Linked DNA regions of Homo sapiens: region 1 is linked to region 2. Evidence: promoter capture Hi-C in 16 types of primary human blood cells and fetal thymus (Javierre and others, 2016). All regions are on one chromosome and are shown on one strand. The core of a region is centred on a gene start or on the middle of the fragment in contact, and the rest is flanking DNA. Distances in the headings are between cores, read along the strand shown. Region 1 holds the start of QTMAN (queuosine-tRNA mannosyltransferase). Region 2 holds the start of QTMAN-AS1 (QTMAN antisense RNA 1).

What was found. Contacts are between HindIII fragments. The CHiCAGO score rates a contact against its expected background, and 5 or more counts as called.
Region 1: a fragment that was not itself captured here is called in contact with the fragment with the promoter of QTMAN-AS1 in region 2 in 3 of 17 cell types (megakaryocytes, M0 macrophages and M2 macrophages); the score reaches 5.5 in megakaryocytes.

The regions. Positions count from the first base shown.
Region 1 is chr2:144,325,522-144,333,370 of GRCh38, reverse strand. It overlaps QTMAN (queuosine-tRNA mannosyltransferase), which reads left to right and starts at 859. Exons shown (of 12, transcript NM_001376312.2): 1 at 859-932. RefSeq lists an enhancer at 226-803 and a silencer at 585-1,184. The HindIII fragment of the contact is 4,640 bases long and covers 2,084-6,723 here.
Region 2 is chr2:143,934,172-143,941,076 of GRCh38, reverse strand. It overlaps QTMAN-AS1 (QTMAN antisense RNA 1), which reads right to left and starts at 4,010. Exons shown (of 3, transcript NR_110237.1): 1 at 3,441-4,010; 2 at 1-63. QTMAN (queuosine-tRNA mannosyltransferase) reads left to right here. Exons shown (of 12, transcript NM_001376312.2): 12 at 1-3,009. RefSeq lists a silencer at 3,509-3,708 and an enhancer at 3,903-4,586. The HindIII fragment of the contact is 2,667 bases long and covers 2,040-4,706 here.

The DNA.
Region 1 (7,849 bases), core at 3,154-5,653, 390 kb before region 2:
TCAAGTGGCAATGAGAATATTATTGCATAAGGAAAATATAGATGGAACTATGCAAGTCAAATGATGGTCTCCACTGCTGTCGCTTTGCTTTGTGATTTTTAATTACTCAATGTGACTCTCCTCGTGTAAATGGGACCGCGAATATGCAATTATTGAATACTCAAACTGCATCAGAAGTGTGTGGAGTAGTCAGAACCGAAAGGACGGGAAAAATGGAGATAAAGGAAAGCATGAGCCTTGCCAGGAGGGAATCGAGGAGGTCCAGAAGGAGGGATATTAAGAGGCATTGGCAAAGCAGCTGTGGAGGAGCTCCGGGCTGCAGAGCAGGTAGAGGTGTCGGCAAGGGAGCCAGGAACCCGCACAGGGGCCCTGAGGCTCTAGTAGGCCGGGGAGTGGACCAGGAAAGGAGATGCAACGGGCCGGCTGGAAAACTGCACGGGGAATCCGAGGTCGACCTAATGAACAGCACAGACCTTCCAGAAGGAAAGAGAAGGTGACTATGCGAGCTTAGAACAGGACTAGGAGGTTGGGGAAAGAGTACGAAAAAGCTGAAAGGGCGGACAGGGTGCTGACGAGATGGGAAAGGGCGCACAGGGAGGTGGGGAGCAGTGCGAGGCCGGGGGACAGTGGGCAGGTGCGAGGAGCCGAGCCCGCGGGCTGGGGCGGAGCGATTCGCGCGGGCGGGAGCGCCGCTGACTCAGGGACCTCGCGCCAGCGGAGTCCGGGCGGCGCAGAGAGGCGGAGCCTCGATTGCGCGGGCGGGCCGAGGGGCGGGACCAGCGCCTGACGCGCCCGGAGGCCGAGGCGGCCGCGGGCCGGGAGGGGCGGCGGCATCCGCGGCGGCCGCGGGGGAGGGGCACGGCGTCAGCGCGTCGCCGGCTGGGCCGCGCCGGTGGCCAGGAGGGAGAGACAAGGAGGAGGAGGAGGAGGAGGTGAGTAGGCTCCGGGCTGGGGAGCCGCGCGGGCCAGCGGGGAGGCGGGGAGCGCGGCCCCTCCCCTCCCCTCCCCGGCGCCCGCCTCGCGGGGCCGCGCTGCGCGGAGATCCCAGAGGGGCAGCAGCGGCGGCTGCGGCGCGGGGAGCCGGGGGCGGGGGGTGTGGGGGAGGCGGAGCTGAGAGCCGCGCGCTTCCCGGGCGCACGCGCTGCGCTCCCTGCGCCGCCGTCCGCACCGCGCTCGGAATGGGGCGTCACGCCGTGGCATTTTGTGCCTTCTGCAAACTGGTCGTGTTCGAATTGCGTTTTTTTGGTGCCTACATGTCGTGCGTGCTGGTTTTCTGCGGCCCGGCGCTCCGCTTCTTCCTCGCGCAGGCTGAGAGGACGGGTGGGGGCACGTCGCCCTCGCGCGGGAGAAGGGAGGCCGGGCGTCCGGGTTGGCCTGAGTTGGCTGGGGTGCTTCGCCGACCACCAGGCTGCCCGGCGCTTGGCCCCTTGCAGTGCGAGCCCCAGGCCTTCCTGACGGAAAGCTTCGCTTCTGGCTCCTAGTCGCCCTCAGTTACCAGACCTCCCCAGCGCCCCACTCCTCTCTGCCAGCCGAGTGTGAAGACCCTCACTGTGCCCCCCACCCCGGAATCCCTCGTCTGAGGATTAAGCACATAACTTCCCATTTTCATCGGGATCCAGACAATCCCATTCTGTCCAGGTGGAAAGATTCTCTGAATTTAAGTCTTGGGAATGCAGCAGCGAAATTTAACCTTTAGTCCCGAAGTAGTTTTTTTGCCTTCTCTCGCACATACAACTTTTAGAGTCTTCTGACAACTGTGCTGCTTTAGGTTATCTTGAGATTCTTAAGTTAATGCCTTGAGGCCGTGTGATGGGAGTTTCAAAGAGAAGGCTTTTACAGCTTTTCTTCCACCTGTATCGCAGTTTGAAATGGAAAACGTGAGTTGATGATGATTTTCCATACGAGATGGATTTCAGTTTGCAGCCCCGGCTGCCGTGGCTCACTTGGTTATTTGGTGCCTACCCCTGAAGTTGATTTTAAAGCTTAAAATAGTGGTTAGGTAAAGGAGCTGCTGAAAAAGAAGTTCAGTACAATTCAATAGAGCCATTCTATTGGCTTCTATTAACGTGTTTAACCTTAAGCTTTAACCATGACAGGAGTTTCATGTAGGAACCCACATACCAAGTGAAATATTGAATTTTAATTAGTGCGTTCCAGGTCTGACTTGGATTAGATTCTTCTCGGCTCCCACTCCCTTTTGGTATACATTTTCCTTAGGGTCCTGTACTGTATTTAATGAAACAGTTTTAGTATTGAGGATTAGAGGAGTACCTCTTGAATCACGAAACTTTCTTTGACATGCTTGAAAACAATGAATAGGTAAAATCTGAAGCATGATACTTGCAATAAGGTAGGAAATAGTAAATTTTTTAACATCACCAGTTTGCAAAGGTTAAGATGGCTTCTTTAGTCTTGATTTGAAAATTGTGTTGGCATTTTAATCTTATGCATCACAGAAATACAGAATTTTCGATGTTTAAGGAACATTAACAGTATAATCCAATCCCATTATTTTATAGAGAAATTAAGAATCGAAGACAGTTTCTTGATGAGATTTAGCAGGAGCTGAATAGAACTAGTAGTCTTCATTAACTAAACACTTAACTAGGTAATTCAGACCTCTTGTACTAAAGTTTGTTTGATTATGGTACTAAAGTTTGTTTGATTATGGTATCTTAAAAAGCCAAGTAATTAAATGAAATTTTTTTCCTTAATTTATGATTTGGACCCATTAGATTAAAATGCCATGAATTGTACATAGTTAGGAAGTATTTACATTCTGTGAGTTTAAACATTACTTTCCAGTGTTTTTGAATTAGCAATTATCTTGCGCTTCAAGAATCGATTCATATTTTTGATTCGGATAGCCTACGTCACTTCCAGCAGATTGGTATTTTAAGAGTCTTAGAGTTATGGTGTATATAAACCGTGGTTTAGTCATGTGTCATTTAATGACAGGTATGTTCTGAGAAATGTGTACTTGTGGGAGCATCATAGAATGTACTCACACAAACCTACATGGTATAGCCTACTTCACACCTAGGCTATATGGTATATAGCTTATTAGTCCTGGGCTACATCCCTGTTCAGCATGTTACCGTACTGAATACTGTGCCTAAACACACCTAAACTTAGAAAGGGTACAGTAAAAATACGGTATTATAATCTTATGGGACCACAGTTGTATATTCGATGTTTTGTTGACTGAAATGTCATGTGATGCATGACTATCACTTAGGAAGGGAAATCCTATCACATGTAATAATCTAATTCCAGCACGCCCAATCTCGCATTTCAAAGTGGACCTCAAGTGCATGAGTCCTGAAGTTCTTGCTGTGGTGCGATGAATTTTTTACATCCCAGAGTACAGTGTTTAGTGTAGACATTTAGTAAATACTTGTTGGCCTGTGCGCACTTTCCTGGTAGGCGCTTCGTGAAAGTTCGGCTATGTCCTACTCATCTGTGTATACCTGTTATCATGTGTAGTGGGTACTCTTTAAATGCTTATGATCTTGTTGGGCTTAATCTAATTTTTGAAGGTAGCAGAGTGCCTGGAAGTCCTGAATCATGATATAGTAAACTTGAACTAACTCAGTTCCTTTTTTGTGTTGAACCAGGTACGCTGTTAGGTTGAATTCCAATATTGAAAGAGGTAGCAGGTGTCAGATACTTTAGAAAAATTGGGAGAAGAAACTTCACACTGCTAATTTTGTTCTGTAACTTATGTTAGTCACTCTGATATTGGGAAAGAACATTATTTTAGTAATAGAACACCTTAGGTGAGCTAAAATAATACAATGTTTCCATGAGAGCAAAGTGTGACAACCTGAATTGAGTGACCCTCTGACTGTTACCATAGGCCACGTTTTACAATTTTGGTTTTATTTTATAAGGATATGTTTTTCAGCATATAGACCTTTATAAGGAACGTAACTTTACTTCAGAGTTTGGACTACCTTGGCAAATTGTCCCAAATGATATTTTAAATAGTTTTAGGTTGTATTTGATATGTTATGCTTCTTGTTGGTATTACATGAAGAACACTGTGTATTCTTTTACTTATATTCTTACCTCTTCTTTTTTTTTTAATATCAGAATAATAGCATGTTTTTTATTTTTATTTTTTTTTGAGGCAGAGTCACACTCTGTCACCCGGGCTGGATTGCAATGGTGTGATAGCAGCTCACTGCAGCCTCCGCCTCTCTGGTTCAAGTGGTTTCCTGCCTCAGCCTCCTGAGTAGCTGGGATTACAGGAATGCGCCACCATGCCTAGGTAATATTTTTTGTGTTTTTAGTACTGATGGGGTTTCACCATGTTGGCCAAGCTGGTCTCGATCGCCCGCCTTGGCTTCCCAAAGTGTTGGGATTATAAACGTGAGCCTCTGTGCCCTGCCTGGTTATTTTTTAAAAAAAAACTGAGGAAAATTTTCAAGTATTTCTCTTGGAAGTACAAACCAACACTCCATTCTTTGAATCTCCGGAGTAAAATTTGGGCTGAGCAGATGCAGAGCCAATTCCATAGGCTGATTCCTAGTTGAACATGTAGAGTCATAGAGGTAATAGCTTTCATAGGGACGTCTTTGAACTACTTTCTTTTTTTTTCTTTCTACTAATATTACTGAAAGCAGTTGTACGGTAGAGTAGGATGGTGTTTAATTTATAGGAAGCAAATCAGCTCACATCTGTAATTGCTGGTTCTGATGTCAGTCCTAGTCTGCCTGGCCTACTCACTGCCAGATCAGTTTCTTCTATTCAGACCGAAGATATTTTAAGACCTCTGTCACCTACAACGGGAAGGATCTGGAATTATTCTGGTGCCCTGAGCATCCATTGCTCACAAAGGTATGCTGTCTCACTATATCCTTTGGATGTACTCAGTTTGCCTGCAAGATTTTCATTTTTAAAGCACTTTTCTCATAAGGAGTTTTGAAATAATGACAAACACCTTAACTAAGTGTGTGTGAGGCATCTAGAATATTTCAAAATAGTTATAGATGGAGTTAGGATATAGAATCAGACAATTAGTAAGAATATCTAGTGCTTTTCCCCTATGCTGTGTAGGATCACACAAGTCATTTAAACAGACGATAATTTTTTTTGAGTGTTTAAAAAATAACCAGAGCCAGATGTGGTGGCTCATGCTTGTAATCTCAGCACTTTGGGAGGCCAAGACTGGTGGATCACCTGAGGTAAGGAGTTCGAGACCAACATGGCCAACATGGTGAAACCCCATCTCTACTAAAAATACAAAAATTAACCGGGCATGGTGGCACGTGCCTGCATTCCCAGCTACTCGGAGGCTGAGGCAGGAGAATGGCTTGAACCTGGGCGGTGGAGGTTGCAGTGAGCCGAGATGGCACCACTGCACGCCGGCCTGGGTGACAGAGTGGGACTCCATCTCCAAAATAAATAAATAAATAAATAACCAGAGAAGCAATTCCACAGTCTTTTCTTAGTAACTTATAAATAGTCCATAGAATTTATGTTTCTTGGGTGGTTTATTTTTGTATTCCAGGTCCTTTGTGGAACTGGAACCTTGTCTTAAGCATGTTTAGGCATCCTAACAGCTTGATCTCCCTCTCCTTGCTATCTCCCCTACCTTTAGGGGGCTGGGACCTATTCTTATCCATAGGTAGGTGGTTGGGGTCTTGCAGAGCCAAGATCCTGTGATACTGTTTTCTGGACTCACATCACCAGATTGACCCTTTAGATACTGAGATCTAGGCTCCATGGCTGCTATAATTTGAACTTTTTTGAGGGTCAGCTTTTCATTTGCATGAGGGACTCTAGGACACCCTGGATTCATCCAGTCATGAGTTAGAACGCCTTTCCTGACTAGCCAGCTGTTGGATTCTTTGCTTTCTTAGTGGAGACACTTAAGGATGTCTCCCATAAATCGGTGATTTTTATGCAGTTCAATGGTAGCTCGTTATTTTTCAAGTGTTTAATTTTCTGCCTTTTTCTTCTCTTAGTTTTGAGCTTTCATTTGTTCAGGTATTGGGGTTCTCACCACCCCGTGTTTAGGTTCTATTAATTTGCTGGAGTGACAGAACTCAGGGAAACACATTTACTTGTTTATTATAATGGATATTGCAAAGGCAAACAGATGAAGAGACGTGTGGGGTGGGGTATGGGGGAAGGGGTGCAGACCTTCCATGTGATCTCTGAGTGCATCTCTCTCCAGGAACCTCCATGTGTTCAGTTACCTGGAAGCTCTCTGAACTCAGTTCTTTTGGGTTTTTGTGAAAACTTTATGACAGCATTCCTTCCTCCAGGGTATAGAATGGGATCCTCTGTGGGTTGGGGGCAGGGCGTGTCTGTCTTGGGGCAGGAGAAGGTCAGAGGCTTTCCCTGAGGCCTAACACACCCACGTCGTAGCAAAAGACTGGATCAAGGGCTGTGGTAGTTATGAGCCAGGAACCATGCATGGAATCTTCCTCTCTCTCTCATCTTGCTCTCTCTCTGTGTGGTATATATAAAATAACATCACAGGTATCTATTACACATTCCTCAAGCAAGGTCATTATCTGTCTTTACATCTAGATCATGTGTACCCCAGGGTTGGAACTGAATCTGTCCAGTTCCCTGGAGGTGTCCTTAGCACTCAGTACATATAGCAGGTGATACATATAGATTAGATATAAATTTCTCCCAACAATAAGTTCTGTTATCAGTGTGGGAAGCCAGTGTTCATATAGAAGTTTAAAATTAATTCAAGAAGCTTAGACGTTTCATTGCCATCGTTAGTACTGGAGAGTCTGTGTTTTTTTTTTTTTTTTTTTTTGAGATGGAGTCTCACTCTGTTGCCCAGGCTGGAGTGCAGTGGCGCAATCTCGGCTCACTGCAAGCTCCACCTCCCGGGTTCACGCCATTCTCCTGCCTCAGCCTCCCGAGTAGCTGGGACTACAGGCACCCACCACCATGCCCGGCTTATTTTTTGTAGTTTTAGTAGAGACGGGGTTTCACCGTGTTAGCCAGGATGGTCTCAATCTACTGACCTCATGATCCGCCCGCCTCACCCTCCCAAAGTGCTGGGATTACAGGCGTGAGCCACCGTTCCTGGCTGAGTCTGTGTATTTTAAATTGTAGGCATATCCATGTAAAAAATGGCATCAGTCACCTGACAGGACATTTAATTAAGAAGAAAAGTTATATAATTTTCACTATGTTGCCTTGTAAGGCATTGGAGATTTCAGTTTTTCATGAATTTGATTAATATGTATATATTTCTTACAATTAGTTTTATTATGAAGAAGTGAGTTTAATGGCCCTATTTTTGTTCATTAGTAATTGTATACTAAAGAGTAAATTCTCATTAAAAGGCCTTTAAATGCCTGCTCATAAAGAAGACAGACCTCTGATTTTGTTCTCTATACAATCCCAGTTATTGTTTTGAGGCAAGTCATCAAACTCTTTAGTAGTCTAAACCTTTAATTTGGTTTCAGAACAGTAGTCATGTATTGAACACCCAAATTACCATGTCTGTAACAAGTAATGCAAACACTCCGTATTAAAAATGCAATGACTGCAACTGTTTTTGTAAAATTTCTTGTGCTAATTTTTTAAAGAGGACTTTTGAATTAAGTTTCTCATGAAGGCCAAAATCTTATACTTTTAATGGTAGTGGAGTGTGTGTATATGTGTAGAGGCGAGGGGGTGGTAATTTTTGCAGTGGTATTTTTAAGTGGACAGTTTACTAATTATGTTGAGGTAAACACTTTACAACTCTAAAAGGAAAACTTCAATTATCTGAATGAAATGAGGTACATGAAATTAATTCAGATAAGTGGGGGAATCTTTGGTGTAAATGATGCATGTCAAGGTACATGACCTCAATCTTGATTTTTTT
Region 2 (6,905 bases), core at 2,761-5,260:
ACCTCTTCAAGAAGGGAAAAACATTTGTCTTCTCTTTCTCCTCTTTCTTCCTTCTGCCTCTCACTGTAAGAAGAAACGTGTTAATAAGTTGCTAATACCTTACTCTAGGTGTATTTCATGTTACACCAGCCAGTGCTTGTATTCTCAATGACCATAAGGAGAGGAATGCGGAAGAATTGATTTCTGTACTAAAAGTTCAGACTCTGTGGCACTTGTGATATTTCTGGACAACTGACTCTTCTCTATTGCCTTTCGAATCATACAGTGGCAAAGCTGCTCACCCATGTGTGTATAAAGCTGACCCTTCATCAGAAAGGCAGCCCCCAGTGTCTCCCCACACAGGGCAGAAGAGCAGAGGGAGCAGGTGGCAATGTGGCAGCACCTTGAACTGTGCATCACTGGGCCTGCTCCCCCTCATCCCAAAGCAATAACCCAGAAATTACATCCTGAGACTTACTTCCTCAGAAAGAAAAGGAAGGGGAGGGATAACTTAAAAAGGAGAAACTTCTAATATGGTATTAGACTGTAATTCATAGGGAAATTTATGCCTGAGATATGAATTTCTGAAAATAAGGGGCTTTTTTGGAAGGGAAACACTGACACATCCTTAATTATAGAGTAATAAATACCAATGGTATATTATCTTTCGATATTTCCTTACACAGATATCAAAGCATGCAGCTGTTTTTGAAAACTGATAATCAAGTACAATATAAGTATATTACATCTTGCACTTACAACACACCCTTCAACTAAGCAGCATCATGGAGCACTTAACGGTGAGAAACAGAGCTGCTCATAGTAGAAACCTAACTGAACAAATTAGCTTTGAATTGTAACTTAAGAATCGTAGTCAAACCAAAGCGTCTGTCCTTGCCAGGAAAGGCATTCCAAAGGCAGAGAGCATGCCAAGTAAAAAGGCTTTGCTTCAGGATTATGGAGACAGTTCTGAAAAGCCAGCATAACTTAATGATCAATCAGAAAAATATAGAGCAGTAACTACACAACTGAAGGATGCATAAAAATTGTACAAAACGTTAATAGTGGAATGGGGAGGTAGGATGGGATTTTACGGGCAAGTATTAAGCTCTTGGAAAGCTTCATTTGTTGCCCTCAATCCACACAGCAGAAAGAAAGAGAAAGAGACAAACATGGTCAAAGAAAAGTATGTGGACAAATGTGGGGGGTAGAAAAGGAAATGAAGGTTAAGCAAGGCCAATATAATTCAGAATAAAAGGGAGGGAGGGAAGTATAAGGAGCCAGCTGTAATTACTGAATGTTACATTAAGAAGAGCTGAAATTGAGAGGGGGAGGTCTTGAGTATTTTACTAAGTGGATTAATGTCCTCTTCCTCGGGTGTCTGAAGTTGCAGATTTTAATTTATTTGGTGCAGGGATTTATTACAGAATTCTTAATGGGTGGGGAGATAAACAGGGACAATTATAAGCTCTTAAGAAGAAGAAAAGAGGACCATATAATACTTTCTATAAATTTAACTGTAATAAACAGGGTTTCAAGCTATGGACAAAGATAGTCAAAAAAAGCATTTATTCCATGATATAGGACTAAAAGGGAAATAAGAGGTGTGTCCAAAAAACTTAAAGACCAAAACAAAGAAAGAAAAACCCACATAGATGTGTGATGCCAGGATTTTGAATGACTTGGGAGCTAGTTATTGCCGCTCTCCTTTCTCCACCCATTTAAAAAAATAAATCATAACTCTGGCATTTAAAAACCTACTCATGAACATCATTTATTAATATAAACTTAATCCTGTGCTATTCTTTGGTGGGTGGTAAGAACATGAATTAACAACAACTGGACTAAAACGATGGCAACAGGATGATCCACTCAAACACAGGAAAGCTGTAAGAAAAAGAAAAACTCCTAATCTGCTCTTTCACCTTACTTATTTTACAGAAGGAGAAAGCCAAAAAGGGGAGAGCATGTGGCTAAACCACAGAAAGACTAGATGCCTAAAGGAAAAATTTTAAAGTGTTCCTAAATAGGTATTAGAAGGGGAAGGGGGATGTAAAGCTTATGTGATTTACATCATTTTGTTAATCTGCTAATCTACTTCCCTGGAAGGTGAGAAAGAGTGTTGTCTGCCTTCTGCAATTGAAGAGACTAGGGCAGAAACTTAATTATGTTCTTACCCTGTGTATACCTGGCTGTCATCTGGCTGGCAACTAGTCCACAAACTATTGGTTCAGGCATTTGCCTGGCAATAATGTTAGCCATCATTTAAATTGTTAAATATGGATCAGAAGATCTCTAAGAATTACTGATATGCAGCTATTAATACTGGATGTAAATAATATTATTTGGGGTGTGGGTAAATCATTTGACTGGAACCACATTTAAAAAAAGGACTTGGAAATTTTATTTTTGAAATGCTGTTGGGGAGATGGCATTGATGAAAAAAAAAATTGAAAATGGAAAAAAACATCATCTACAAAGAGATGGGTAAAAATGACTAAGCAAAGAAGCCTTGTCACCTTCGACCTGATGCTTCATTGTATCAGAAGAAAGTAAACAGATTGCTAACAAAGAGACCACCCCTTCTAATTTCCAAAACCGGCCCAGCAACAAGAGGGAGAAAATAGAGAAGAGTGCACTGCGTGGTGGCTCAGGGTGATCCTTTAATTTGAGTGTTAAAAATGAGGGCACAGACCTAGAGGTTTTTAATGGTCCGCGGGTGGACTTCAGATTCTGAACACTCCTCCACCTTCTGTGGAGAATTCGGGACACGGTGGAGTTTAACCAGTATCTTAAATCCCAGGGACAGGGTGGAGATTGCTTTGTGATCCTGATTAATTAAAAGGAAAGAAATCAAAGCAGACATCTCTCCTTTTTCCATTTGAGCCGCAGAGCCATGGAGGGGAACTTGTGCTCTCTGGTGCTTGCAGCTATGTTCCCTGGCTTTCATCGTCTTGGCTTTTCCCCTTGTATTTCTAATGCTGTGATACCAGGCCAATAAAATGGAATCTACAAAACTGCAAAACAAAATTGTGTGTATGTGTGTGTGTATTAGAATTTTACTGAAGATAATTGCAACACTTTAAGCACAAAATTTTTAACTTAAAATGTATGAGTAATGAAGTTTTAAGAAGCAAAATGTGCTCAAGCGGAGTATTTGTAGTCCCTTTTTTGTAAGAGGTTCCCCAGACCTCTGGGTGCATCAGCAAACTGTCCTACACGATGGAGCGTGCAGCTGCAATTTGGCCCCGGGCACCACCTATCCAGAGTTACTACCTAATGCATTTTACATTTGCACACATTGTCAAGGGGTGGGGGGCAGCTAAGAAGGGGCCTCCCCCCCACCCCCCAGCGTTCTGTTTCCTTTTGTCGCGGCCGTCAGCTGACACGTGGAAAATGTGGTGTACGGTTTTGTTTGCCTTTTATCTGTAATTAAGGATCCCTTGTCTGGGGCTTGCTACCTCTTTTCTTTCTGCCTCCCTGCCGCTCGGGTCTTCCGCCCTCGGTCAGGTCTGGCCTGGCGCACCGCAGCCTGGGGACTCCGGGTCGCCGGGCGGAGAAGCAGGCAGTGGGCGCAGGGACCTCCGCGGAGCCCGGCGCTCGCCTGCCGAGAGAGCGCACGCCCCGGCACGCCGGCCCCGGCTCGCCCGAGCCCCCGACCAGCTAGTGCCTTGCGTCGGGGCAGCTGCGCCCGCGTTGCCCAGAGCGGGTCGCCTTGCCGCGCGTCCGTTCCCTCCACACCGCTGCGCCTGAGCGGCCAGCGAGCCCGAGCTCCGGTCTGCGGCGGCGCCCGCCCTCGACGCCTAGCTCAGTCTCGTCCAGAGCGGTGGGGGGAGTTTTCTGCACCTTTCAGGCGCGGGAACATGTCGAGGGACGGGGGAGGACGTTGAGGTCACGAAGTCATCACCCACTCCTCTCGGCTGCGTGGGCGCTGCGGGAGCGCAGAGCCGGAGCACGAGGGGCTCGTCCCAGGGCGCGGGCCCCGCCAGCCCCTGGCGCTCCCACCCGCGCGCACTCCCTCGCACACCCGCGCTGGCACGCGCACCCTGGCGCGCGAACTCCCTGCCACGCGCGCGCTGTCACGCACACACACCGGCACGCACCCGCCACGCTCGCGCCGACACTCCCAGGCTGGCACACGCACACGCGGTGGGGACCCACCCCTGCCCGGGTTTGGCTGCGCCGGGCTCGCGTGCTCTCTCTCGGGCACCCCCGGGAAGGGAGCGCAGCTCGGTGGGCCGGCACCCTGTGCTTTATGCGTCTGAGGATTTCATTGAACTCGGTTCCCTGAGTCGGCCAGGCTCAGTCCTCAGCGAGGGAATACGATGAAGACGCACTAAGCAAAACCAGAAACACCGATGCCTACTACCTTTTCAAAAAACATAACTTGCCCTCAGCAATCCCGCGAAGGGGAGTGGGGATGGGCACGGGGACTCTCCGAAAGGGATTTTATCTACACAGTTTAGAATAACTCCTGTCTCTGGTATGTTCGGATATGTGATTTAAATCTCACCCCCCGGACGCTTTCTTTTTCACTTCACACCTGTATATTGAAATACAAACCTCATTTCTCCTCCTCACCACCAACTGGTTATTTAGGAGGAGTGGAGAAGAGGAGTTAAGCAATATTGGGGCAGGAGAATATTTAGAAGCATTACATTGATTTGTCACTCATTTGCTCTGATTAGCTTTTTGAAAACTTGTGAAGATATTCCTATTTTGAAGCTTGTATTTTGTTAAAAGCCTCCCTCACACTGCCGTGATTTATCATTATTTATCTGAGTATACACACGTATGTATAGGAGAAAAGGAATGCTGATCCTTCCTGATTTCAGCAGTGCCGTTTTCCTTTCTATCCATGTGGTTTTAGCATAATTTTCTCCCTCTTTCTCACCAATAGAGATATTATAGTACGCAAAAGCAGGGCACACCTGTGACCAAATACAAGCAACATTAGCCTGGAGTGTTTGCGAATACTCCTTGTCATCTGTCGCTCAAGATTTCCCCCCTCAGATTTGAAATATTCCCCAAACTGGTTTAAAGGTGTGAGCGGGTGGGTTAACACGTGAGAGCAGTCCAAAAGTAAAGCGAGGTTGGGAGAGGGTGGCCTACATAAACCAACTCTTGGAAGGCTGAACAAGAACGCATGGGAAGTGCATTAAGAAGAGACTGTAAACAATGATAATCAGGGCTTTCAAAAATCATAAAACGGATTGAAATATCTGATTCATTATTTATTCATCACAGCGCAACTTTGCGAATCTGAGAATAGTGTTTGGAAACCAAGTGCCTTCTATTTAGTACATCAAATCAGCAGATGGGTCTCCCTTCCAAACTGCGGCTAAAGGGTTAAAGCTATAATTTTAGAAAAGAATCTTAGGAAATGACACTCAGATCTAATATATTTCCTTTTCTTTCTGGCAATAATATCCCCCAAAGAATAAATATATACTTATTGATATCATGATAATGTTTCTCATTCTGAGTACAAGTGTCAGACTGATTCCCGTTTGTGTAAGTGTTTTTAAAACTGCGAGGACACTTTCGCTACTCTGAAAGCTGACGAGCCAATGAAGGGGAGCTTCTTTTAACTCCATAATAGCAGGTTACATAGTAAATGAACACTGATGGTCAAATAGCCAATTATGGTATAAATATCCGTTGTTTACAGAGAGGTGTTAAATGAGCCTTGGAGTACAAGGGATTAGGCCGATCTATGCTACAATTTGTTCTTCAACCCATTATGTCTTCCCTTTAAAAGGCCAGTGCCATTGTAGGTAGTACGCACACAGAACATACTTCTCTATGTTGATTTTAGTTTGCTTTATTTCGATGCACACTGTTGTTTACTTTTTAAAATTTAAATAAATGTCAGCATTGTATAATTTCTATGTTAACAAAGCAGTGAGCAAAATCCCTTGTATGTTTATAAAATATTATTGTTTAATTCACATAGTTTAGAAATTCCAAATGTTGAGAATAGGAAGGAGGCCAAATACCATCTGTTTATAACTATGATGCATCGTAATATGTGTACTTTTAAAAGGAGTTTGGTCAATCATGCCACTATTTTATCTGCTCGGAATATGTTGGAGATTTAAAATGTAATTTACAGGATTACTTTTAGTGCGTTGCATCCAACTGTGAGTTGTAAAGAAATCGGTCTCTTCTGTTTTTCTCAAATTAATCATGTAACAGCCCCAATTAATGGGGGCTGTTAAACGTGTCGCTTTTTGCTTAGCTCCAGAATTCTTCTAACTTTGGCTCAGTCCACCTTCTTGATGCTGATAAAAACTCCAAGGACAAATGAAACAAAACACTCCTAGCTGTGTCTTTCTGCCAGGAGATAGTCACTAAGAATGGCAGGCAGGATATGGTAGCTAATAATTAGCTAACATCAGCCCTGAGAAATTACCTGTGAAATACCCTTTGGTACTGAATTGAAAAACATCTGACACTCCCTGTTTTAAAATAGTATTTTCTTGTCCCCGAGACTTCTGATTTAACTTACCTTTTATTTCAAAGGCATCTAATTGCATACCATGTAACAAAGGGAGTATACTTACTTGCAATAGATGAGCAGGTTTTTGTTTTTGTTTTTAGTTACAAACTCAAGTTATTCAGTTAGGAACTCTCCCTTGCTTTGCAAATCAGGGAATCTCAGCAACTGGGCCTTCAATTCCAGGCAGCCATAGTTTTAAATCCAGAGGTGGTTTTAGAGTGTCACACCATGGGGTCTCTTTTTCAAGAAGGAGGAAGTGAAGATGAGCTCAGATGTCTTGAAAAAGGTTTGAAAGCTGTGATAAAAACATTTATTAGCAAATGATGGTTGCTTGATTGATTTTTTAACAAGGTAGAATCAGTAAAAAGCTACATCTTGAAATGCTTTTATAAACACATGCAGAAATATGAAAACAAACTCCCAA